Regions from separate parts of the Homo sapiens genome. Here all the other regions are linked to region 2. Evidence: promoter capture Hi-C in 16 types of primary human blood cells and fetal thymus (Javierre and others, 2016). All regions are on one chromosome and are shown on one strand. Each heading gives the region's core, a stretch centred on a gene start or on the middle of the fragment in contact. The rest is flanking DNA. Distances are from core to core; before and after follow the strand shown.

The links. Contacts are between HindIII fragments. The CHiCAGO score rates a contact against its expected background, and 5 or more counts as called.
Region 1: a contact is called between a fragment that was not itself captured here and the fragment with the promoter of TRIP12 in region 2, in 1 of 17 cell types (neutrophils). The highest score is 5.4, in neutrophils.
Region 3: a contact is called between a fragment that was not itself captured here and the fragment with the promoter of TRIP12 in region 2, in 8 of 17 cell types (neutrophils, fetal thymus, naive B cells and 5 more). The highest score is 10.7, in neutrophils.
Region 4: a fragment that was not itself captured here is called in contact with the fragment with the promoter of TRIP12 in region 2 in 1 of 17 cell types (neutrophils); the score reaches 6.5 in neutrophils.
Region 5: a contact is called between a fragment that was not itself captured here and the fragment with the promoter of TRIP12 in region 2, in 2 of 17 cell types (total CD4 T cells and fetal thymus). The highest score is 5.5, in total CD4 T cells.
Region 6: a contact is called between a fragment that was not itself captured here and the fragment with the promoter of TRIP12 in region 2, in 9 of 17 cell types (total CD4 T cells, fetal thymus, naive CD8 T cells and 6 more). The highest score is 10.6, in total CD4 T cells.
Region 7: a contact is called between a fragment that was not itself captured here and the fragment with the promoter of TRIP12 in region 2, in 1 of 17 cell types (naive B cells). The highest score is 6.0, in naive B cells.

The regions. Positions count from the first base shown.
Region 1 is chr2:230,696,034-230,699,430 of GRCh38, forward strand. LOC124907996 (formin-like protein 16) reads right to left here. Exons shown (of 4, transcript XM_047446832.1): 2 at 270-662. It overlaps LINC01907 (long intergenic non-protein coding RNA 1907), which reads right to left. Exons shown (of 4, transcript NR_040038.1): 2 at 270-662. Among named protein-coding and RNA genes, the nearest start is that of LINC01907, 2.8 kb to the right of the region's middle. The HindIII fragment of the contact is 778 bases long and covers 1,146-1,923 here.
Region 2 is chr2:229,920,117-229,923,441 of GRCh38, forward strand. It overlaps TRIP12 (thyroid hormone receptor interactor 12), which reads right to left and starts at 1,893. Exons shown (of 42, transcript NM_001348323.3): 1 at 1,764-1,893. It overlaps FBXO36 (F-box protein 36), which reads left to right and starts at 2,387. Exons shown (of 4, transcript NM_174899.5): 1 at 2,387-2,493. The coding sequence starts at 2,398. RefSeq lists enhancers at 211-310, 948-1,448, 1,449-1,949, 2,606-2,665 and a silencer at 1,386-1,775. The HindIII fragment of the contact is 9,663 bases long and covers 1-3,325 here.
Region 3 is chr2:230,716,182-230,719,249 of GRCh38, forward strand. All of the region lies in intron 1 of CAB39 (calcium binding protein 39), which reads left to right. Among named protein-coding and RNA genes, the nearest start is that of CAB39, 4.9 kb to the left of the region's middle. The HindIII fragment of the contact is 4,922 bases long and covers 1-3,068 here.
Region 4 is chr2:230,814,242-230,817,675 of GRCh38, forward strand. The region is part of intron 7 of CAB39 (calcium binding protein 39); the gene reads left to right. Among named protein-coding and RNA genes, the nearest start is that of ITM2C, 49 kb to the right of the region's middle. The HindIII fragment of the contact is 6,201 bases long and covers 1-3,434 here.
Region 5 is chr2:230,773,505-230,776,521 of GRCh38, forward strand. The region is part of intron 2 of CAB39 (calcium binding protein 39); the gene reads left to right. Among named protein-coding and RNA genes, the nearest start is that of CAB39, 62 kb to the left of the region's middle. RefSeq lists an enhancer at 1,090-1,384. The HindIII fragment of the contact is 2,198 bases long and covers 456-2,653 here.
Region 6 is chr2:230,793,636-230,796,850 of GRCh38, forward strand. The region is part of intron 4 of CAB39 (calcium binding protein 39); the gene reads left to right. Among named protein-coding and RNA genes, the nearest start is that of ITM2C, 70 kb to the right of the region's middle. RefSeq lists an enhancer at 1-840. The HindIII fragment of the contact is 2,245 bases long and covers 583-2,827 here.
Region 7 is chr2:230,868,101-230,871,134 of GRCh38, forward strand. The region is part of intron 1 of ITM2C (integral membrane protein 2C); the gene reads left to right. Among named protein-coding and RNA genes, the nearest start is that of ITM2C, 4.7 kb to the left of the region's middle. RefSeq lists enhancers at 1,450-2,107, 2,108-2,765. The HindIII fragment of the contact is 4,603 bases long and covers 1-3,034 here.

The DNA of each region.
Region 1 (3,397 bases), core at 285-2,784, 780 kb after region 2:
TAAGCATGGTGAAATCCTGTCTCTACGAAAAATACAAAAATTAGCCGGGTATGGTGGAGGGCGACTGTAGTCCCAGCTACTCAGGAGGCTGAGGCAGGAGAATTGTTTGAACCCAGGAGGCAGAGGCTACAGTGGGCCGAGATCACACCACTGCACTCCAGCCTGGGCGACAGAGCAAGACTCCATCTCGAAAAAAAATAATAAAAAGTAAAAATATATATATATAAAGAGGGATGTCTAAAATAACGAAATAATAATATAAAAGTTACATTAAAGTAAAAGCCAGTAGTTGAATCTGAGAATTAGCTGGTTCAGTGAATTCCAAGAGGTTAGCAGAAGAAAATCTTCCAGCACCAGTTTTTGAGTTTCTTAAAGCTGTCAATGTCTTGTGATATTGTCCACAATCTTGGCACTTGTCACGAAAGGGCATACATGGCCTGAGCATTTTGCTGGGCTTCCTTAGTGGTCCAGGCAGCAGCTTGTCCAGGGAGAATTCATGGTATCCTGAAGGGCTGAGTCTTTCAAGGTTTATGCCAAATCGCTAAGCCTCAGCTTGTAGAACTCCTTCAGATTCTGGGAGAAAAGGCCAGCTGCAAGGCAACCCACAGTCCTGACAGGGATTTGGGCAGTCGGGTGTTAATTCTTGGTGATGCCAATTCAGGCTTGAGGAAGAAAAAATGTGAAAGTTAGTTTGGAGGACTGTAGTCAGATATTGAAGAAAACTGGAGAAATTGAAAACCTGGTAAGGATTGACAATTTGGGCAAGGCAACAGGATCTAATCAAATTTAAAGGTAGGTTCCCAAACTGGTTTTTCTATGAGGAGTAGGGAAAGGCAGCCAATTAAATCTCATCAGACAAGACAGAGTTTGCATAGTCATCAGCTACCTGCAGTGTGTAAAGAGGTCCAAGAAGACTCAAAGGCAATGCACAGGGCTGGAGTCTGATAACCAGAAGGGTGTGCTACATATTGAAACATAAAATTTCTCATTTTAGACACCTGTCTTTTGACAAAGATAATCTCAAAGAAAAATTTTTCATCATCACAAAATAAGGCTGGCCTTATTAGGTATAGTCTCACTATTTACACAGGAGCAGCAAGAATGGTACTTTAGCAGATAGGCCTCCTTAAACTTGCTTTGCTGGAAGCTTTAATAAGGTATCTCAGATTGGACGTTTGAAAGCCTCTTGAGACTAGGAAGCCACACCAAGAACTTGACATCCAAATTACTTCTGGTACCTATAAATATGAGCAAATTCCTCTCTTCTCAAGGACCCCTCAATATCCTACAGTTCACGGGCTTGCAAGGAAGTGACCTTCCTAACTTACGTGTAAGGCTGACAACTCTGTAAGTCAGAGGGCTGGCAAGCATTGGCTCCATAAAGTCAATCCTAGTTACTTTAATGTATCAGGTGATTTCTGATTAAATGAGCATCATTCTCAAACATGATATTTCAGGCAAAGTTTTGGGTGCATAATCAATATTTCCAATTATGTCCTGTTAATAAGGAAGGCAGATTCTCATTGAACCTATGCAAATAATCATATTGCCATAAAATTAAGAATACTTAATGAGAGTTTCTGAATTTTGGAGAGGTCAGGGAGGGAGAATAAGATATTTAAAAATGGTTTGTTTCTGGTTACCAAAGTCTGCCAAACTGTTACGAGTCATAGAGAGCTTAAGAGAAGAGAAGGGGGTTCCTTCATATGCAGAAAATGGAACATTAAAACCACATCTAAAACATTGCAAACAAAACCCACCATCATTCCTTATCAGTTCATTTAGTCTTAGGTAATAAATTCTTGTTCCACTGGATTTTGAGTTGGTCATCTCATGAACTAACCAGCGTCTCAACTAGAGTTCTAGAAATCCTGACTCAGTCCACTGATGTGGTCTCATAGCTGTTTGAATGATGCCGCCAGAAGCTTGCACTTAAAGTCCCTCGCATAGTCCTTTACTGCATGTCTCTGAGACAGTCCTTCTTTGTTGAAGATGAAGCACTGTGGTCTGTAGCTGATTACAAGGGCTTTCAGGGAAGCATCAGAGTAAAACAAAAAACCCTATCAGTAGATGACAAAATAAAATGGCTGTGCTTAGGCCGGGCGCAGTGGCTCGCACCTGTAATCCCAACACCTTGGGAGGCCAAGGCGGGCAGATCACAAGGTCAGGAGTTCGAGACCAGCCTGGCCAACATGGTGAAACCCCGTTTCTACTAAAAATACAAAAATTAGCTGGGCATGATGGCGCATACCTATAATCCCAGCTACTAAGGAGGCTGAGGCACGAGAATAGCTTGTACTCAGGAGGCAGAGGTTGCAGTGAGCCGAGATTGTGCCACTGCACTCCAGCCTAGGTGACAGCGTGAGACTCCATCTCACAAAAATATATATATAAAATAAAATAAAATAAAATGGCTGTGCTTAACTATTGACAATTTTCAGAAGTGAAAGATCTGCTGGGAGTTTATAACAAGAATAGTAAAACTGACAGGGATGTTGTTTGTTTCTGTGGCATGCAAACCAAAATAAGAAAATCAATCTAAAAACTGTTTTGGATGAAATATTTACAAACATAATGAGTAACCCTACTTCCAAAGAAAAGTGAATGCTATCTCCAATTTATAAAAACAGAGGAACATAATCTTTACCGAGAAAAAATCTTTAGGTATAACATATAATAATACCAACATAATATACCACTAATATACTAAACATATTGTTAGAATATATTAAGAATATATAAAGAACATAAAGTGAAGAGATTCTGTAAATATGGAATAGGTCCAAAACATCTGCATACTAATAAAACTTCACAGGTAGGTGATGTCAGTCCCCAGTTGAAAACCCCTGGCAGGGCCGGGTACAGTGCCTCATGCTTGTAATCCCAGCACTTCGGGAGGCCAAGATGGGCAGATCACTTGAGGCCAGGAGTTTGAGACCAGCCTGGCCAACATGGTGAAACTCCATCTCTACTAAATATATGAAAATTAGCCAGGCACGGTGGTGCATGCCTGTAATCCCAGCTACTCAGGAGGCTGAGGCACAAGAATCACTTGAACCCAGGAGGTGGAGGTTGCAGTGAGCTGAGGTTGCCCTCCAGCCTGGGTGACAGAGTGAGACTCTGTCTGAAAGGAAGGAAGGAAGGGAGGGAGAGAGGGAGGGAGAGAGGGAGGGAGGAGGGAGGGAGGGAGAGAAGGAAGGAAGGAAGGAAGGAAGGAAGGAAGGAAGGAAGGAAGGAAGGAAGGAAGGAAAAGAAAGAAAACTGCTGGTATAGGAGATGCTATATTCAAATTTAAAAAGTTATGGCTGGGTGCAGTGTCTCACACCTGTAATCCCAGCACTTTGGGAGTCTGACGTGGGGGGATCGCTTGAGTTCAGGAGTTCAGGACCAGATTGGG
Region 2 (3,325 bases), core at 643-3,142:
CTTTTTTTCTAACACAACTAGGACCTTTGTTCTGAGCGTCGTTTTACCCCACTCAATAGCTCTTTCAACTTTCTACCCCGTATTTTTTGTTTTGTTTTTAAAGAGGAGACTCTGAGACTCAACTTGCTAGGTCTTTAAAAAATGAAATGCCAAAAATACCTAATGAGACTCTCGAGAGGAACATAAAGTTAAACACATCACTAAAGGGCCTACAAAACGGAGTAAAGCCCGGAGATCGGGTGATCTGGCAGCCCAGGCAAGATCGAGGACCGCGACTAGGAAAGGAGACAGCAGGAGAGCAGTTAGACGTCCACTTAGAACGGATTCACTGCGCTATTAACCGTACCCGCCTCCCCCCGCACCGGCCCAACCTTTACACACAAACACATTCCCTCCCCCAATTAACTAAAGAAGCAATTAAACTATGCCCACCACCAGACTCGATGCTTAGGCTAAACCTCCCCCAAAGTAAAACAGCATTATCAAAAAAACACAACATTTGTCTTAAGGGTTTGGAAGCTGCCCCTTCCGTTATCTCCTCACCACGTAAGGTAACCAATTCCCTCCTGTCCCCCACCAGGAGTTCAAAGTGTGATTTCCCCCCGATTTACATGTGTTTTTATGTTTTTCCGCATTTTTCCGTCTAGGAAATGAAGGATTTCTTATTCTGAGGAAGGGAGAGACGCCGAGGAAGACAGGATTTGAGGTTTTACTACCTTCGTTATTCGAACTCCCCTCTAACTTGTTCCTGTACTAGAAACCCACTCACTATGGAGAAGGAAGGAGAGGGGCTGAACTGATGGACAAACGTTGTAAATAATAGGTTTTATGTAATCCACATATAAATAAATTAATCGCCTGACTCGCTCTGAATGCTAATACGATTGGGGTGACAATTGGCCCACCTCCCTCCCCCAAGTCCTAGTTAAACCCACCTACCACCAATTTCCATTCTGATCTATTTAAAAGGATACTCTATTCCTCTCAGTCAAGTTTCTCGGCTTCTTTAGGCCTCCCTGCATGCCCCCCTCGTCATCATCCTCCCTCAGCCTCAACTTCCCACGGCTTAAAAAACTGCCCCGCGCAGACCCCGTCTCCGGGCTCGCCCTCCCTCAACCGTCCCTCGCCGTCCCCCTGGGCAGGAAACCCCTTACTGCGGTCTAAAGTCTCTCTGGCCTCTCCCTTCTCTGACCCTCGCTTCCCACAACTGTTGTCACTGGAGCTGCTTCCTAGTTTCCATTTCCGGGCCGTCCACGGCCCCGGAGCCTCCCCTTTCCCGATTTCCGGGCCCCTCGTCCCATTTCCGGGGAACCCTTGCCGTCTTCACACCCCCCACCTGCACTTCCGGCCCCCCACTTTCTCTCTTCCCAGACACCCTCCAAGCTCCAAAGCCCACTTCCGGCCCCCCTTGGTCCCCGCCGAGCTCCCCAACACCCGCAAGCCTTACCCCGGTTCTGTGAAGGGCCCTCCTCATTGCGGGAAGCCGGAGGAGGGACCCAGCGACCCCTACCTCCCGCCAGGCCCCGGTCCCTCCGGCCGCGGCCGCCCTCGAGCGTCTCTCCCGTCCACCCCCGGCCCGGTCCTTCCGCGGCCCCGCCGCCGCCGGCGCCGGGAGCAGGCCAAGCGGGGGCCGAATCGCGGCGATGACACAACCGGGCTTCCTGGGACTTTCTGTTCCAGCTCCTCCCCCCGCCCCCCCAACCCCTCAGCTGGCCCCCTCCCCCAAGGCTTGCCCCCGCCGCCCAGAGCTGCGCCCCAATTACCTAGTTAGGCCCCAAAGTCTCCGGTCCGGACTCGGTGGCGCGGCAGTAACTTCCACTAGCTCCCCCCACCCCCCCCAGCGGCGCGGCGGCGGCGGCTCCGGGTTCCTTCAATTATCAGCTGAGCCGCAGCACCGCGCCCGGCGTGCGCCTCCGCCCGTGCCGCCTCCCTCCCCGCCTGCTCTGACACCCTCGGGGAACTACTTTGTCCTCGGGCTCCGGTTACGGGCTCGTCCGCGGGACCGGCACCGCTGCCTACTGGCGGCCCATCACATCGCCCCTCCCTCCCACGCCTCCCGGCTCGACTCTCTCAGCAGCCTCCGATCTCCGCCCGATCCCTTCGAGGGACCAGGAAGGGGACTGTGGAGATCTACTTGGTATCCCTCCGCCGGGGTCACCCCCTCCCCTCCGTGGTAGCAGGAACTAATTCCCCCTCGGGTCACCCGGGACCTGGAGCTGGAAATTTCACGGATCAGGGTTCCCTAAGACCCTTGGAAGAGGGGACGATCGCCCCAAGTTAGAAATCCTTCTGCCAGCTCATAAGCGTGGTTCAATTTAAACTAGGGTTTTGGCCCCTTGACCCCAACCAAGCCCCGCCCCTTCCTGGTTGTCTTAGCGACGGCGGTGGCGTCCCAAGATGGCGTCGTGGCTGCCGGAGACTCTCTTTGAAACTGTAGGACAAGGCCCGCCGCCTAGCAAAGACTATTACCAGTTACTGGTCACCCGGTCTCAGGCAAGTGCGAGCCGCGGTTTACCCTCTCTCCTAACTCCCTACCTGGCCCGGTTGGGGCCCGGGACGCAGGCTGTGCTAGGCCAAGAGCAACCGTAGCCCGCCGGAAGCGCCCAGTCCCGGCTCCGCGCCGGGAGATTTTCCTCGTCACCTCGGCCTCCTCGGTCCGACGGCCCGCGTGTCCCTGCTCTCCCCGAGCCCGGCTAGTCCCTGGCAAGCCTTCTCTGCCTCCCCGCGGTGCCGCGTGCTCCTTTCCCGCCACCCCGGCTTCTTACCCGTAGAGTTTCCTCCGCGCGAAGAGGAAAACGGGCGTCTCCGGCTTGCGTGCGGCCTCACCTCAGCGTGAGAAGGAGGGAAAGAACGACTCAGCCAAGTGTCCCAAGGAGGAGCCGGCTAGGGAGGGGAAAAGGAGATTGCCTCTTTTCCAGGATAGGAATTAATCATGGAGAATTTTATAAATCTCTTTGTGGCCTTTACGCGTGCCACGGCCACATCAAAACTTAGTTATTTCTAGTAGCAACTGACGATTGGGAGCTCTTACCTTTTGGAGTCCCTTCTATCCCATTGAAAGTGTGCGGGTGGTGGTATAAAAATGTTTCAGCTGCTCTGCGCTTCAGCCCCACCCATAATGACATCTGCTCCACAACAATAAGACCGAGGATTATATTATCTCCAAAGTAACCATCGGCCTATTTTTATGCCTACTTTGGTTATTGAAGGTGGGCTTTTGGATGATTTACTGTGTCCATGAAATTCTCAACTTGAGCGGGGCCTCCATTGGGAAGACGTTTCTAATCCTGGCTGAGTTTACGCCTGTCACTGAGTTATTCATGCA
Region 3 (3,068 bases), core at 182-2,681, 800 kb after region 2:
GTTAATGTAGAAGAACTGCTAAGAAAGTCCAGTATAAGTATGGGGTTTGGTAACTTGATTTTATTTGAATGTTTGTATATTGCAAATACGTATGCCACACAGGGTCTTTATTACCTTGGAATATTTACTAAAGTTTTCTGTTTTGATCAACTTTTGTGGGATTACAGATTTCTTTAGTTATTGCCATACTTTCCCAAGAGCCTTTTTTCCAGATTGATGACTAATCACTCACAGTTTAGCCATCTGCCATGAAAATACACAAATCCAACCTCCCCAACCCCCAAAAATAAAATTCAGTAGTAGGACGAATTTTGTTTCAGGTATTGTCTTTTGTTTACCTTTCTGGCATTGTTTCTATTCCAGCTCTATTTTATTTTTTAATTTAAAAAATGTTTTAATTAAAAGAGATGGTGTCTCATTCTGTTGCCCAGGCTGGTCTTGAACTCCTGGGCTTATGCCATCCTCCTGCCCCAGCCTCCCAAAGCACTGGGATTATAGGCCTGACCACACTGGCCTCCAGCCCTATTTTAAAAGGTCAGGCCGAGCGGGGTAGCTCACTCCTATAATCCCAGTGCTTTGGGAGGCCAAGGTGGGAGGATTGCTTGAGCCCAAGAGTTGGAGGCCGATCTGAGCAACATAGCAAGACCCTATATCCACAAAAATAAAAAATTAGCCGGGCATGGTGGTGTGTGTGCCTGTTGTCCTAGCTACTCAAGAGGCTGAGGCAGGAGGGATTGCCTGAGCCCAGGAATTTGCAGCCTCAGTGAATTTTGATCACTGCATTGCAGCCTGAGGTGACAGAGTGATACCCCATCTCAAAAAATGTATATATAAAATAAAAATAATAAAAATAAAAATTCATTTTCCTCTTTTTCATTGCTTCTTTTAATTGGGCATTTGATTTTATGAACGTCTTTACATGTTACAGAAATGGGACTGTGGAAGGTGGATTAATTTGGATAACAGAAAAACTGGTAAACATTTTTTTTTACACACTTTGATAAAATTGTGGGGAAAAAATATCAAATCTGAATCTCTGGGTTAAATTACTTGTGACTTGTTATTACTGAGGTGTAAAGATCTGGCATTATTATGAAGTCAGGTAATCTAAATTTGCATAGCAATTTAGTCATCAGTATCTTTTGGCCATTGTAAGAAGACTTGTATTAGAGCCTTCTTTAATTACAGAAGGAATTGAGCTGTGTGAGAGTTCGTACGTTCTGTGCCCTTAGTGACTTTCCGACCGGATCCCAACCACTACTTTTTAAAAAATTCTCCTGCAAGGGTGTCTTGCAGTGAGAAAGAGAGACTGGACTCAACTCCCCTCATCTCTACAGTCCGGAATATGGGGGCAGAGCAAAGTGAAGCAAATACTTCTGCCGTCACCATTTGTAGAGTAGAACAGTCTGTGAATAAAATGATCAGTGTTCTGCCTCTGTTTCTCAGGCCCTCCGAGGATTATGAGAAGAGTTACTACAGGCCTAGGTGGCAGATCATAGACTGGTGGTGATGAAATCAGGTTAACAGCTAGTTGCCATCTGCATTTTTGGGGGGTGTTGTGCCATTTCTGTCTCACTGAGCTTCCCAGTCCCACTGTGCTTTTAACTTTTAAAACAGAAGGGGTGAGGGGACAGCAGAATTGTGGTTTATAGCAGCTGTGATGTTAAGCCTGCAGAGGAAGGCAGGATGGCATGCAGAGAATTGCGGGAGGTCATTCGGGTGTGAAGTGGCTCCAAAGGAGGGAGGTAAATCCTGCCTTGGCCCTTCATGTTGACCATATCCAGTGCATACCTATTTGTATGATCTTTAATAGCTTTTGTCTTGGTACTCAGAATATAGTGTTTAAGTTATAGATTGTGTTTGCTTGTTTATGTGTGTATTCATATGCATGTTTCAAAGATGGGGAAAATCTAGCCATTATTTAGTGGCAGTTTGTTTTTATATGGTAATTATTCTTTGGGAGCATTATCCAGCAAAAATTGTTGAGGACCACGGAAGTATGATACTGTTAAAAGATCACACACTTTATTTGGTAATACATTTGAGAAACAAAACATACATTGTGTATCTTGATCTTAATTAAGTTCCTACTTTGTGATCTTGTCTCATGAACTGTAACTTGCTCTTTACAGTGTACTGACTATTAACATGCTAGTCACTGTTGTCTCCCTCCACAGTAGATTATATATCAGCTGTATTGAGGCACTAGGAAGAAATACTTGGACAGGTTTCTGTTTACATGTCTGTAGTTAAGGCCCGCTTTTAGGTTTATAGAATTTGGAGAGGTAGTGTTAGCCAGTGGTTAAAAGCGCAGGTGCAGCCAGACTGCCTAGATTTTGAACCCTCATTCCTCTGCTGTGGGCTCTATAACCTTAAGTTCCTTCTGTCTAGCTTGAATTCCTTGGATGGTAATAGTAGACCATATCTGAGAGGGTTGTAGGACGATTAAATGAGTTGCTACATCTGATGTGCTGCCGTGTATCAGATGCCTAGACATAAGTTTTGTGATGCTCATGATAGGCTTTTCCAGGGGGGAGAAACTTTAGAACTTCAGAAACAACCTAGGCAGAATGGTTCTTTCTGCAGGTGGGAACACTGAGGCCCACCGTAACTAGAGCAGAGTTTGGTTCACTTTGAGCAGTAACAGGTGTAGCTTTCTGCAAAGTGAAGTCTCTTTTCTAGGGTTTTATGGCTTATTAGCCACAGGACTGAATCTGGAGCCTGGTTTTCTTCATTCTTTGTCCAGTTTACTTGAATTAAGTATCATACTTTATGCAGTAATGTCTTCTTTTGGACCTTTTCACTAACATTTACAAAGGTTGTATTCAAAATATATTAAATGTTCTTTGTCATATAATTCTTTTTTAAGGTTTAATATACTAATATTCATAATATTTGTGATGTAGCTGGCAAGTGATTTGGGAGGCGTGTATGAAGTTAGAAGTCGAAATAGACAAAGAATCAAGGAAAATTAACAAAAATTAGTTAGCTTGGGGGAACAAATTACCGTTTAGGTCCACTAAATGTTGGGCAAACCTCTTAGGTAGTATTGTCCCCAACATCATTGA
Region 4 (3,434 bases), core at 106-2,605, 890 kb after region 2:
AAGATTTTTGCGGAAAGGAATGGAGTTGGACAGTGATCCATGTGGAGCACTTTCCTGCTTCCTAGTAAGGTGGAGACACAGAAAGGGAATGAACGGGAGTTTGAAGAAGACTTCATCTCCTAGCAGTGCATTCTTTGCGATTTTGAGCCATAGTCATATCAGCTAGATGAAGGCACTCCAGGTGCTGTGCTCCTGGGCTGTGGCCTGGGTGGCACAGGCAGGTGTGTGAGGGTGGAGGGAGGCGATGTGCGTGTGAGGCTGTGGACCGTAGACAGGCTTGGCTGCTTTGTATCAAAGCAGGATATCCTTTGCAAGTTAGAATGTTAAATTTAAGATTTAAACTGTAGAACAAGGGTTGGCAAACTACAACCCATGGGCTAAATCCAGCCAGCTGCCTGTGTTTGTAAGTAAAGTTTTACTGGAATAAAGACGTGCTCATTTATTTACATATTGTCTGTGGCTGTTTTGAGCTCCAGCAGCAGAATTAAGTAGATGCCTCAGAGACCCTATGTTCTGCAAAGTCTAAAATATTTACTGTTTGGCCCTTGATAGTTTGCTGACCCCTGCTGTAGAAAGTTCTTATAGCAGTTAAGAAGTGCATACCCTCCACTCTGTCAGTAAGCAGTCCCAACAGGAGATATAGATGAAATCACAAAGGATTTGAGGGGAAAATCATAATTCCATTCAGTTTTTTGCCAGGTCCATTTAAAATTTGACTCTGCCCAGAGTTCTTCCCCTCATGGGTGTCTGGACCGATAATGACCAAGATTCCATCCACTCATCCCCTTCCTACCGTGGGGAAATCTCCCTTGAAGACCTTATCTTTCTGTGGAAAAGACTAAAGGACACTAGGAGCATCTGGAATACTTTGTGTCCTTTGATAGGAACACTCCACCGTCCACATTTTCAATCAGCACTTTCTTTCAGAACAGCATATGCCTTTTTTCCGTGTAAGGCTGTAATTCCTGCAGCAGGGCATCCGTGACAGCCACAGCTGGGGAACAGGCACAGTCCAGCCAGGCCCCTTGCTTTCCATTCATTGCTGTTGCTTGGGCCCCACCTTCCCTGGCTTAGAGGATCATTTGCTGTCCTTTCATCTTTGGGGGGTTGGACAGAACTTCCTGGCAGCTGTGGGAGGAGTTTCTCCTCCCTGGACATCAGTGTGTGAGAGAGTGGAGGTTCCTGGGGCCTCTCCTGCTCTGTGATCCTCAAAGGGCTGAGGTATACTACTCTTGCCAGCAGTTATACAGATGCACACAGTTCACTGGAGTCAGTATCTTCTAAGGCCACAAAGGCCAGACAGGATAGCCTAGGTTAGTAGCTTCTAGGGCCATTGTGGGAGGAAGCTGGGGCCGGGGGTGCAGGGTGGAGGTTATTGGCAAATCCATAAACTTTGACCAAATGTTGGATTCTTGGGCTGTTTGGATAAGGAGAAAGGCCTTCAAGACCCTTCTGCCATTCAGAATTACCAACATGAAAAGAAAGGCTGAGACCACCATTTCCAAGCCCTTAGGAATGGATATAAAGCAAGTTGCTGGCTCCTGCAGTTTATGTTAGCGGTGGGCCTGTGAGTGCCCCATGAACACATGGAGCGGCTTCAGCACCAGCCGTACTTTAAAGATGGATTTTAATTTGTACTCTCTTTTTCGTAGCCACATTGGCATTTATTTATTCCCATATTTATGTCGCCAGCAAATTTATATTCCCTATGCAAGACTCCCAAGTTTTTTAGTAAAGTATTACATGTTTGGGCTGAGTATGGTGGCTCACGCCTGTAATCCCAGCACTTTGGGAGGCCAAGGTGGGTGGATGGATGGAGGTCAGGAGTTCAAGACCAGCCTGGCCAACATGGTGAAACCCTGTCTCTAGCCCCAAAAATTAATTAGCCAGGTGTGGTGGCACAAGCCTGTAGTCCCAGCTACTTGGGAGGCTGAGGCATGAGAATCACTTGAGCTCGGGAGGTGGAGGTTGCAGTGAGCCAAGATTGTGCCACTGCACTCCAGCCTTTGTGACAGAGTGAGACTATCTCAAAAAATAAAAAAAGAATTACATATTTGAAGTCATCTTCCTTCAGATTTTCTTTGGTTTCTGTGATAGAAAAAGAACACGAAAGCTATAAATCACATAATACTAACTTTTCAGTCTTTGTAAGATACTGGTTGCTTCTCACCGTAAGAATAGATTTTGTGATTCACATTGATATGAAGCCTACTCCTTTCAGTTTTTCCTATGAGTTCCTTATAAAGCCTAAGTAAAATAGATTTGTTTTCTTGTACATCAGCTCATTTTTTATTTAATATGATGACAAGTTACTTATCCAGAGATCAGTTACCTGGAAACTTCAAGTATCTAGAACATAGCCAGAAACCCAGAAAGGAAGCAACAAAAGCAATTAAAGCAAAGCCACAGAGCCGCTATTTGCGCCTTTTCTTCCCTTAGCCCTCACTCACTCACATCTCTGCAGATACAGGCCTGATACGTGCTTTGCACACTGATGCTCGTTTCTCACTGCACTCTCCTGAGAGAGAGGCACTGTTCCATTATACAGATGATGGAACCGAGACACAGAGGAGTTCAGTAACGTGCTCAAGATTACAGAGCTCACAAGAAGTAGGGAGCCAGGATTGGAACCCAGGCAGGCTGGCACCAGGGACCAAGCTCTCCACAGCTCTGCCACCGCCCACAAGGACCGCAGCTTGGCACCTGCCCCACTGCCGGCTCTGCACACTCAGCCTTGGCCAGGTTGTTGGCATGTTGACAACCTGAAGAAGTGACTGCTGGTTTTAGGAAAGAGTAAGCCGTGACAGTTTAAAAGTTATGAGTTTATATGATATAACCAACTCTCCAGAAATTAGTAAACCCTTGAAGTAAACAGATGTTTTTTTAGCATTAATTGGTATAATTAGTGATGGTGAGGGGTCAGTAAGAAAACACTGGATTATCTTCAGGAGACCTAAGAAGGAGCAGAAAAATACTCACTTGTGTAAACCTTTCTGAATTAGCTGTGATAAAACGATAACTGTGGCATGTGCAGGGTACACAAATGGAAAACTTTGGACACAAAACCCTTTATCTTGGAAAGTCCCGCTAAATAAAATTTAAAAATAGTTGTTTTAAATTAAGCTAAGGTTTGTGGTTAGTTAACAGGAATAATCAATAACTTTTGACCATTTTCTTGAATAGTTTCTTTTTAGTGAGCTAACACAAATGCACGCTTAAAGGGGAGGCTTTGAGAGTCTCCCACTGGGGCCAAGGGGGCATCTTGAACATCCTCTGCAGAGAGAAGCGTCAGGCCTCCCGTAGACTTCATCTCTCAGGGAAAGGGAGGAAGGCATTCAGGTGGCAGAGAGAAGGCCCTTCGTAGCTTTTAGGTTGTAATTCAGTTCAGTTCTTCGGTCTTTTGAGTGCCTACTAATACTCTATACTTGATGATT
Region 5 (3,017 bases), core at 305-2,804, 850 kb after region 2:
GAAATACACTATTGAAATTCAGCGATTATCTTCTACTCTGTATAGGCAAGTCCACACTTGAGGATGTAGAGAAACTGCAGTGTGCCAAGAGAGGAGTGACCAGGCTGACATAGAAATTCAAAACTCTACTGTGAGGAACAGTTGAATGACCTCAAGATGTGAGGTACAGCCTAGGGAGAAGATTTGAGCAGAGTAATGTTGTAGGGCGGATTTGCTCTTAGTAAAATGTATTTGGGAGACCATATAATGTAACAAAAGGATTCGAACTGATCGTGGCAGGAGGTAGAATTCAGACCCATGAGTGGAAATAAAACAAGAAGTCCAATTTTGTCTTGATATTAGGAAAAACAGTAAGTGGAAGCTGACTTTTTCAGAAGACAGCAAGTTTTCTGTTTCTGAAGAGGTATTGACATGGACTAGGTGACCACTTAGTTAAGTATTCTAGAAGGAATTCAAGCTTTGCACTGTTGACATATCCTTACATCGATATACCACCATACTTTGCAAGGTGCCTTTGTATAGAGTCCCCCATCTTATTTTGAGATAGAATTGATTCTGGTTTCCCGTGATCCAGATGAAGAAAGCTGTTATTTACTAGGCTTATTACTTTGACTCATTATATTAGAGTCAAAGACGGAATTCACACCTAGCTCTGCCAAATCCATGGTAAAATTATGCCTTTTTCCACTTTATTCATTATGTCCCTGGGCTTTTTCCATCCATTTCTTGTGATCTCACAGACAAAATGATAAATATAACATTTGAGTGTTTATTCCTTTATTTGTTATATGTTGGTATTTGTATTTGTTTTATATGGTACATAGTTACCACATTAAGAATTGTGTATGATACAAATAGATTAGTCTCTTAGGAGACTAATTCTTTTAAAAGAATTCATACAAAACTAATTTTCTTACATTTTAAAAAAGCGGTTAATGTTACCATCCTTATTTTTAGGTAACTAGGGGCAGGGGTGGGGTGGGACTTAGTCTTTCACTGCCAACAACCAAACAGATGTGGTGTATGTGGGGACTATTTACGCACTCTTCGCCCACCACATGCTGTATAAAGGAGGTATGGCTGCCTTGCTCAGCTTATAGGTGGTTCCCTTCCTTACGATGAATGCTTGTGTTCACAGGGTTGAATAGCTATATTCACTCATTTCATGAGAGGAGTAAGTTTGCTGACATATTTTAAGAGGGGGGAAAGGGAGTAGCCTCTTCATAGCATGGCCATTTAACAGTGACTCATGGTTACTAAACTTGTTTACAGTAATCTTGGACACCAGAAGGTTATTAATAGACTTTCCTTAGTCCATGATCATTCAGCTTAGACTATGCAGACATTTTCTTTAGTAAAGAGGTGGGGGTTGGGGGAGGTAGAAAGCATTTATCACTGGAATTAATGTGATAATAGAATTGTTCTTATTATCAAATACTTGGCACCAACAGTATCTGTCAGTTCACTTTTAGATTCCATTTCACATCTTGGTCTTCATTTACTTTGATATAGAACTTTCTTTTTTCAACAAGGTCATTTAATCTCTTCTTGTAGAATGAATTGATATTTCAGGCAGTAAATATAAATGGGTAAATATTTAGAGGACTCTTGTTTAAAATGATTCTTTTGTTAAAGATTGGGTTTAAAGAAACTCAAAAAAAACAAAAAATAATAATTTAAGCCTCATCATTCCCCCCAAATCTGAGCTCTTTAAGGCATTTCTTTTTTTCTTTTTTCTTTTTTTTTTTTTGAAACAGACTCTAGCTCTGTTGCGAGGCTGGAGTGTAGTGGTGTGATCTCGGCTCACCGCAACCTCCGCCTCCCGGGTTCAACTGGTTCTCCTGCCTCAGCCTCCTGAGTTGCTGGGATTACAGGCATGCGTTGCCATGCCCAGCTAATTTTTGTGTTTTTAGTAGAGACATGGTTTCCCCATGTTGACCAGGATGGTCTTGATCTCCTGACCTGGTGATCCTCCCACTGTGGCCTCCCAAAGTGCTGGGATTACAGGCATGAACCACCACACCTGGCCTCTTTGAGGCATTTCTTAACAATAACTAGTTATATGTAAGTTAGAATCAATTCAGTTATGTAAACTAATGAACACAGGTATGGAAAATTTTGCTAAATAGATCCCTTCAAAATTATTTCTAAAAAGATGACTTAACAGTGGTGCGCATTGGAGTTAACGTTTTCCTCATGCATGGTTGCCTTTGTTGTTGTCTACTGTCTTTACTTGCATCATTATCTCTTGCAAGAGATCCCCAGTTTGATTGAATCCACAGACATTTTAGTGCCTCTCTGTGTGGGCAGATAGGCATAGGAGTCAAACCTTGTCCCCGTTCTTAAAAAAGTATATAATCCAGTAGAGGAGATACACATGTAAATAATATAATATAGAGGGACTTGGGGGCGCAGATAAAATTCTGTGGGAACCAAGAGGATAAAGCAGTTCCTACGTCTGTCAGAGACAGATACAGAGATGACAGGTTTGAAGTGACGTTTAAGCTGATTTTTAAGGTTTTTGGCAGGCAAAGTGTGAAAGGGAACAGAATTTGAAACAACCTATGGCATGTTCAGAAAACAGTGACAAGTTCAGTGTGACTTTAAGAGGTGGAGATAAAGAGGAATGGTAGGAAGTAAGACTAGAGAAACAAGCTTTGGTAGAATGAAAAGGGCCTTATAGACAACCTAAGGGTATACTGAGGGGGAGTGCAAGAGGTCTTACGCTATAGAAGTCTTATGTTGCCTTACTTTGTTTTGTTTATTTTGAAATTAATTAATTCACAGGAAGTTGCTGAAATGAGTACAGGAGAACCCATGTACCTTTCACCCATATCCCCAGTGGTAACCTCTCACATAACTATATACAATATCAAAACCAGAGCATTGACATTGGTATAATCCACAGGGCTTGTTCAGATTTCACCAGTTTTACAGTTTGTGTGGATATGCATATAGCTCTATGCAATTGCATCACACTTATCTGTTCTCCAAGTCTATACATTTTATTACTTCAA
Region 6 (3,215 bases), core at 455-2,954, 870 kb after region 2:
AAGTTGAATTTCATTGAAGTATCAGTTAAGTTATATATTGAAAGACATCTCCTTTGGACATAATACGCACGCTGTAAGGCAGTAAAAGCTGCCTCTTAAATGGAGCATGGATTCTCTACAGCTTTACTTTGTTGAGTCAGCAAAGTACATGTTTATGAAGTAGTGTCCTTTGATTTTTACCTCTCTGTGTCCACTTACTAATCCATATAATTTGGTAATTCACAGTGCATCTTCCTGAAATTACTACTGGTCTAAGCAGGCATTAATGTTTGGGTAGTCTTGTCAGTTTAAAAAAGCCTGAAAACCGAACCATAGAACCAAATGCCCTTCTCCCTCATCCCTGAGCCTCATTGACTGGCAAGGTAACCTCCTGCTGTTTCACACCAGAGTTGTGTGCCAGCCCCGGGTATGGTGTGCATCTGTTTGTCCCAACATTGGTGGTGGTCTGTTCTATTAAGTTGGTGGGCAGGCATGTTCCTGGCATGACTGTTGGTGTGAATCAGCTTGCTCTACTCCTCCTGGCTTTATAGCTTGCCTCAGTCTGATTCACGTCTCTGCGGTTTAACACTTCCCCCAAGTTCAAGCTTGTTTAGACAAAGTGTGAGTCAGTGCCTGTGTTGCACGCCAGCGTTCTGTTTCCCTCTTTCTATTTCTAACCATCTGTGTTACTTCTTCAGATTTTGGGATACAGAACTTTTGGCATCTAATTTTGTGTTGTATCAATTCAGAGTTGTATGTAAAAACATGTAGTGAGCAGTGTGAAATTGTGGTGATCTTAGAGCAGCTTTCAGGTGCCTTTGTGTGTTTTTAAAGCCCATATTTCCTTTTCCATAGAAACCAAGGATTATTAAAATCAATACATTAGTTAACTCTGCTGACATTTTTCACTTCAGAGTAATCAGAGGCATGATATGAATGTTGTTAAATGGCATGTCAAGAAAGACTTTTGAGATACAATTTACAGTTTAGAGCTCTCACCTGTGCTGGCCAGAGCAGACACTTCCAGCCAGGAAGTAGCATGGAGAATGCAACTGGTGGGCCCACCGGAAGCCCCGCCCACCTCCTTTGTTGTGAAAAATATACGTACAACTAGAGGGAATATGTAACATACCGGTTCCTACCCTAAACCCAGCTTCAACAGTTACGAATGTTCTGTCATTCTTGTTCCTCTAGTCCTTGCCCCCTTTTTCCTCTGACACATGACATCACTCAGTATGCATCCCTAGTACGCATTACAAAACACAGTATAACACAGTTACGTTACCATTTGCAAACCTAATGTCTAATGCCCAATCTACAGATTTCCTCAATTTTCACAAAAATGGCATTTTACAGTTCGTTTATTTAATATTACTTCCAGGCTGGACATGGTGGCTCACGCCTGTAATACCAGCATTTGGGAGGCCAAGGCGGGTGGATCACTTGAGTCCAGGAGTTTGAGACCAGCCTGGGCAATATGGTGAAACCCCGCCTCTACTAAAAATACAAAAATTAGCCGGGTGTGGTGGCACACACCTGTAATCCCAGCTATTCGGGAGGCTGAGGCACAAGAATAGCTTGAACCCAGGAGATGGAGGTTGCAGTGAGCCGAGATTGCGCCACTGCACTTTAGCCTGGGTGACAGAGCAAGACTTGATTTCCAAAAAAAAAAAAAAGTTCCAAACAAGGCCCACAAACTGAATTTGGTTAATACTCTGAGCTCTCTTTTAATCTATAATAGTTAATATTATGCCATCTCTTTGTTGAAGCCTGGATTGTTTGTTTTGTAGAAAAATCATATATTTTAGACTTGGCATTCCTGTTGCTTCTGTAACATGTTCCACTATCTGCTAGTGATTTAACTGGTAGATAGTTAGATCTGGCTTTTTTTTATTAGATTCGGATTCACTTTGAGGGGGGCAAAAGTTCATGGATGGTGCTGTGTGCTTCATATTGGGTGGCACTGGTTATCCCATTTCTGGTGATGTTCGGATTGACCGGTGGATGCAGGTGTCCTCAGTCTGTAATCTGTCCATTACAAAATTCTCATTGACCTTTCACCTCCTGGTTTTAGTTTCCATTGAGAATCATTGCCTAGATTCAGAATGGCAGTTTCCTGATTCTGTTATTTCTTCTTCATATAATTAAATTGTTTCTATAAAGAAGAACCCTTCTTCCTTGATGACTTAGTTATCCCAAAATAGTCTCATTTTTTAGTATAATCAGGTATTTTTTTTTTAGTATAATCAGTTGATGACCTGGCCACTTCCTTAGATAAGTATTGAGTTGTTTTAAGGATCATTATAAACTCACGTTTTTGTCTTTTTAAAAATTATATTTGATATGTCTCAATCCATTCCAGTCATTACTTTCTTGTGTCCAAGTTGCCCCATCTTTGGCCCTTGGGAACTCCTTCAAGTTGCCTTCTGTGTTGTTTTGGCAAGACCCCATCAGTCTGTGATTGCTTCCTTGCTTTCTGGCGTAGGATGACCATCTTGCTCATTTTGTACGAGTCCTGCCAGACCTGGAAACAGCTGTTTCTTGAAGGAGCGCTGTGAACTGCATTTTAAGATTTTTGTACTTTTGTTAATTAATTTAGACTGCTTCCATACAGTGTGATTATCTTCTTAGGCTGTGAGTACTTCTGTTAGATATTTATTTGCGGGGCCATGCTGCTAATACTAGCATGCATTTGAAGTCGTATTGCTAGTGTTAGACTACATTTGGAGGCGATTTTTTTTTTACTGGCAATTTACATGTTAGTATGCTGTTCACTCTAGTGCTCACAGGTTATACAGCATAACTGTTTGCCTTGTATTTACTGGTTTATGGTTTAATCGTTTAGACAAGCTTGACAAGCCTCCATCAAAACCTGTTCAACTTGTACCAAACTGTCTTACCCTTGTCTTTCCTGCCTTCTAAAGCTCAGCAAAGATGAATTGTATGATCAGCCATTTTGTGAGCAGATATTTCCATCAAGTAAGAGCCGGTCAGCATTCTAGCTGCATGCCTCCACTGATGCCAAGGAGTGTGGTTTTATCTTGTTGAGGATCTGTGATGTGTAAGAGGACACCACTACTAGATAACAAATGAGTACTACAGGATTTCAGAGGATAAAATGTGGTTTGGGTTAATAAGGCAAGGGTTGATAAAAGGAATAGGACTTAAGATGGGAGTTCCTAGTAGTTTAGAATTTACACAGGCAGAAAAGAGAGAAGGCATCCTAATGGCATATG
Region 7 (3,034 bases), core at 509-3,008, 950 kb after region 2:
GGCAGGAGCACCCTCTCGGTGGGCACTGCCCCTGCTTCTGAGCAAAAACTGCAACACAAGGAGGATTTTGTCTGTGGACCTGAGACTGGAAGGAAGTGCCTCAGTGGGCCAGGGAGGGATGGGGGTGGGGGCCAGCTGGGCTTCCAGCTGCCCGGCCTCCCCCCCTGGTGTTTTGACTCTGAGATAATGAGGAGCTGGGACACTGCCAGCTTGGGAAGTGGGCTGGACCGGAAGCACCCCCTGGGACAGCAAAGCACTCCCTCCCAGCGCCAACTGGATCCCTCCTCCCCTTTGGGGGCCCACTGGCTGGCCATGCCCCTCTTAGCCTGCCCCTTCTCCCCACACCCTGCCTGTGCCTGCACTCACACACACACACACACACACTTATGCACACACATGCACGCACAGATGTGGGCATGTAGAGGCTCACGAGCTGGGGCTGTAAGGGGAGAAAAACAAGTTAAATACAATCATCTTCTTACCTCTGTAATTTTCTCCTTGGCATTTGCCTTTGATTAATGGTCCTGTGTCACCCCCTCCCCAGCCTGCATACCTGGGGATCAGATTTCAGTTTCCTAGTGTGTCCTGGTCTCAGGCCCTCGGCAGGAGGAGCTGGGTCTCCTGGAGCGGTTGGGGGAGGGTCCCGTGCCAGCCAGGAGGGCAAATCTGGCCAGCTTAGCCCTACCCCAGTGTCCTGATGCCCACTGGCCAAGAGGGCCTGGCCCGAAAGCACTTTGTGGAGCAGCGGCCCTGCTCCATCCAGGTCCTTCCCTGTGGCAGCGTGGGGACTTTCATGGCTGTCGTCCATTCCTGGGATTTGGCGCCCCGGCAGGCCCCACGGTGGCTTCTCTGCTTTCCTGCCGCTTCTCTCTCCATTCCCTCATTTCTGCTCTCTTCTCTCAGCAGTCCTTGCATGTTTCAAGACCGTCAGCAGATTGCCAGTGAGGATGAGTTTCTCTTAGTGTGGAGAAAAAATGTTTATGGTGAAATCACAGAGGCACAACCTGGCCAGCCCCTCTGTCCACCGCCCCACTCTCTCCAAGTTCCCTCTCCCCATGAGGGCTCTTCCAGCAGTGAGCTTTTGTTGTCTGGAGATGCCTTGACTATCAGGGATGGAAGAGAAGAGGGAATTCGCCTGGCCCAGCCAAGCCGAGAGCGCATCTGCACAGATGCTGCCCGTGGGGCCTGCAGTCTGGAAGGGAGGACAGGAGAGTGATGGGGACCCCTGACCCTGTTGGCAGATGGCATCTGTGCCTCTGGACCACTGGGCTCTGTGTGCTCAGGTGGACAGTGTTTGCCCACTCTCCTCTCCCCCAGCTAGGCTCTGTCTTGAACACATACAAGACACACACACTCGGTGGGTGCCCTGGCCTCTGTGGTCTGGAGCCTGGGAAAGAAAGCTGCTGAGGACCAGGAGAGATGTGGGGGAGGTGAGATGAGACTGCCTCCCCAACCCCCATCTTCCCTGTTCTCAGCCTGGGCCTCAGGAGTGCGTTTCTGGCTGCCGAACCCCTCCAGGCAGGCTGCAATCTGCAATCATCGTTAAATCGGCTTGCAGTTAATTTGGACATTGTTACTGGGGGATGGGGCCCGGGAGCGCTCCCTTCCAGCTGTGGGGGTCTGCCGAGTTAATGCTACAGTTGGCTGGTTTCCCCCTGACCATTTTGGCCCTGGCTTTGGTAAATCATTTAATGAGTGCCCCTGTGGGTCTCAGTTTAAGCCTGCAGGGAGAGGCCCAGGCCTCTCTCGGGTCCCTGGACTTCCGGCTCATGCGCCCTTCGCTCAGAGAGCTCTGTTGCCTTGGAAACAATATGCAATATTTTTCTACTATCTAAATGGGAGCCCCCCTCCTCAGATACCTCACTGTCAGTAACTGCTTCCTATGGGGAGCAACATTTTTCTGGGTCCCCAGCATGATAGGTGGTGCGGCTGGGGTCTCAGGAAGGTGGGCCATTCGGCCATCTTTCTAGTGAGCTGGGCACCAGGGATCCCAAGGGGCCAGGGCTCTGGGTTGAGCCCAGGCTCCCTGATGCCCCACTGTCCCCAGACAGGTGTAAATACCCCGAGATCACAGGCTGCTTTGAGGGCCAAAGGGACAGTGAGGGTTCCAGGGCTTTGGTGTTTGAGCCTTGGTGTTGATTGGGCACAGTAGGCAGAGGCAGCGCTGGGGCGGGATTTAGGAGTTCTGCCTCTGTGTGGGGCTTTATGGAGGAAATGCCTTCGCCTCCAAGCAGGGACATCTGCGCTTTCCTGTCTACTTTCTGGTAGCCTGTAATGCTGCCTTCTGCACTTCTGCTCATAATGGTGCCTCTGAGGGTTTGGCTCTGCAGGCTGGAGCGGAGCTGGGAGGGTGGCAGCGTGGCTGAGCCCGGGTGTGTGCTGGGGGACATCAGCAGGGCCATGAGAGAGAAGTGCCCACCCGCAGTCTAGGTAAGGTGGGGGATCCCCAGCCTTCACAGTGAGGGGTCTTGGCAGGAACCCCTGCCCTTCTCTGCCACACCTGCCACTGCTGCTCTTCAGCTGGGGCCGTGGAAGCCTCACCTTCTCCCTGCTCTGTCTTCTCTAACCTCCCTCGGTGGGGCCTCCGAGCCCAGCCCCTCCCCCAGGACAGGGAGACACGGGACCCAGCTCAAGTTCTGCAGACCAGCATTAAGGCGGAAAGGCGGAAAGGCGAGGCTGCCCTTTGCCATAAAGCTAGCAGGCCTCACCTTGTCGGTGAATTTGATTTGTGGAGCAGGCCCTCGGGCTCTCCCACGTAGCGCTTTGACTTTTTTTTTTTTCCCTTTTCTGTCTTTCTGGTTGTTAGCAATCTCACAAGCTAGTTTCCCTGGTTTTCCAGAATGCAGAAGCAAAAGTCTGGCCACAATGCAGCCTCAACAGCTGTCCACAGAGTCAGCCCTAAAAAGGAAAGGCTCGGCTGATAAAGATCTGCTATTTTTATCTAGCACTTGATCCTTTACAAAGGGCTTTTAGGTTCTTTGTCTCGTTTAATCCCAGCAAAACCCCTGTCACGCAGAGTCTGTCCACATTTTGC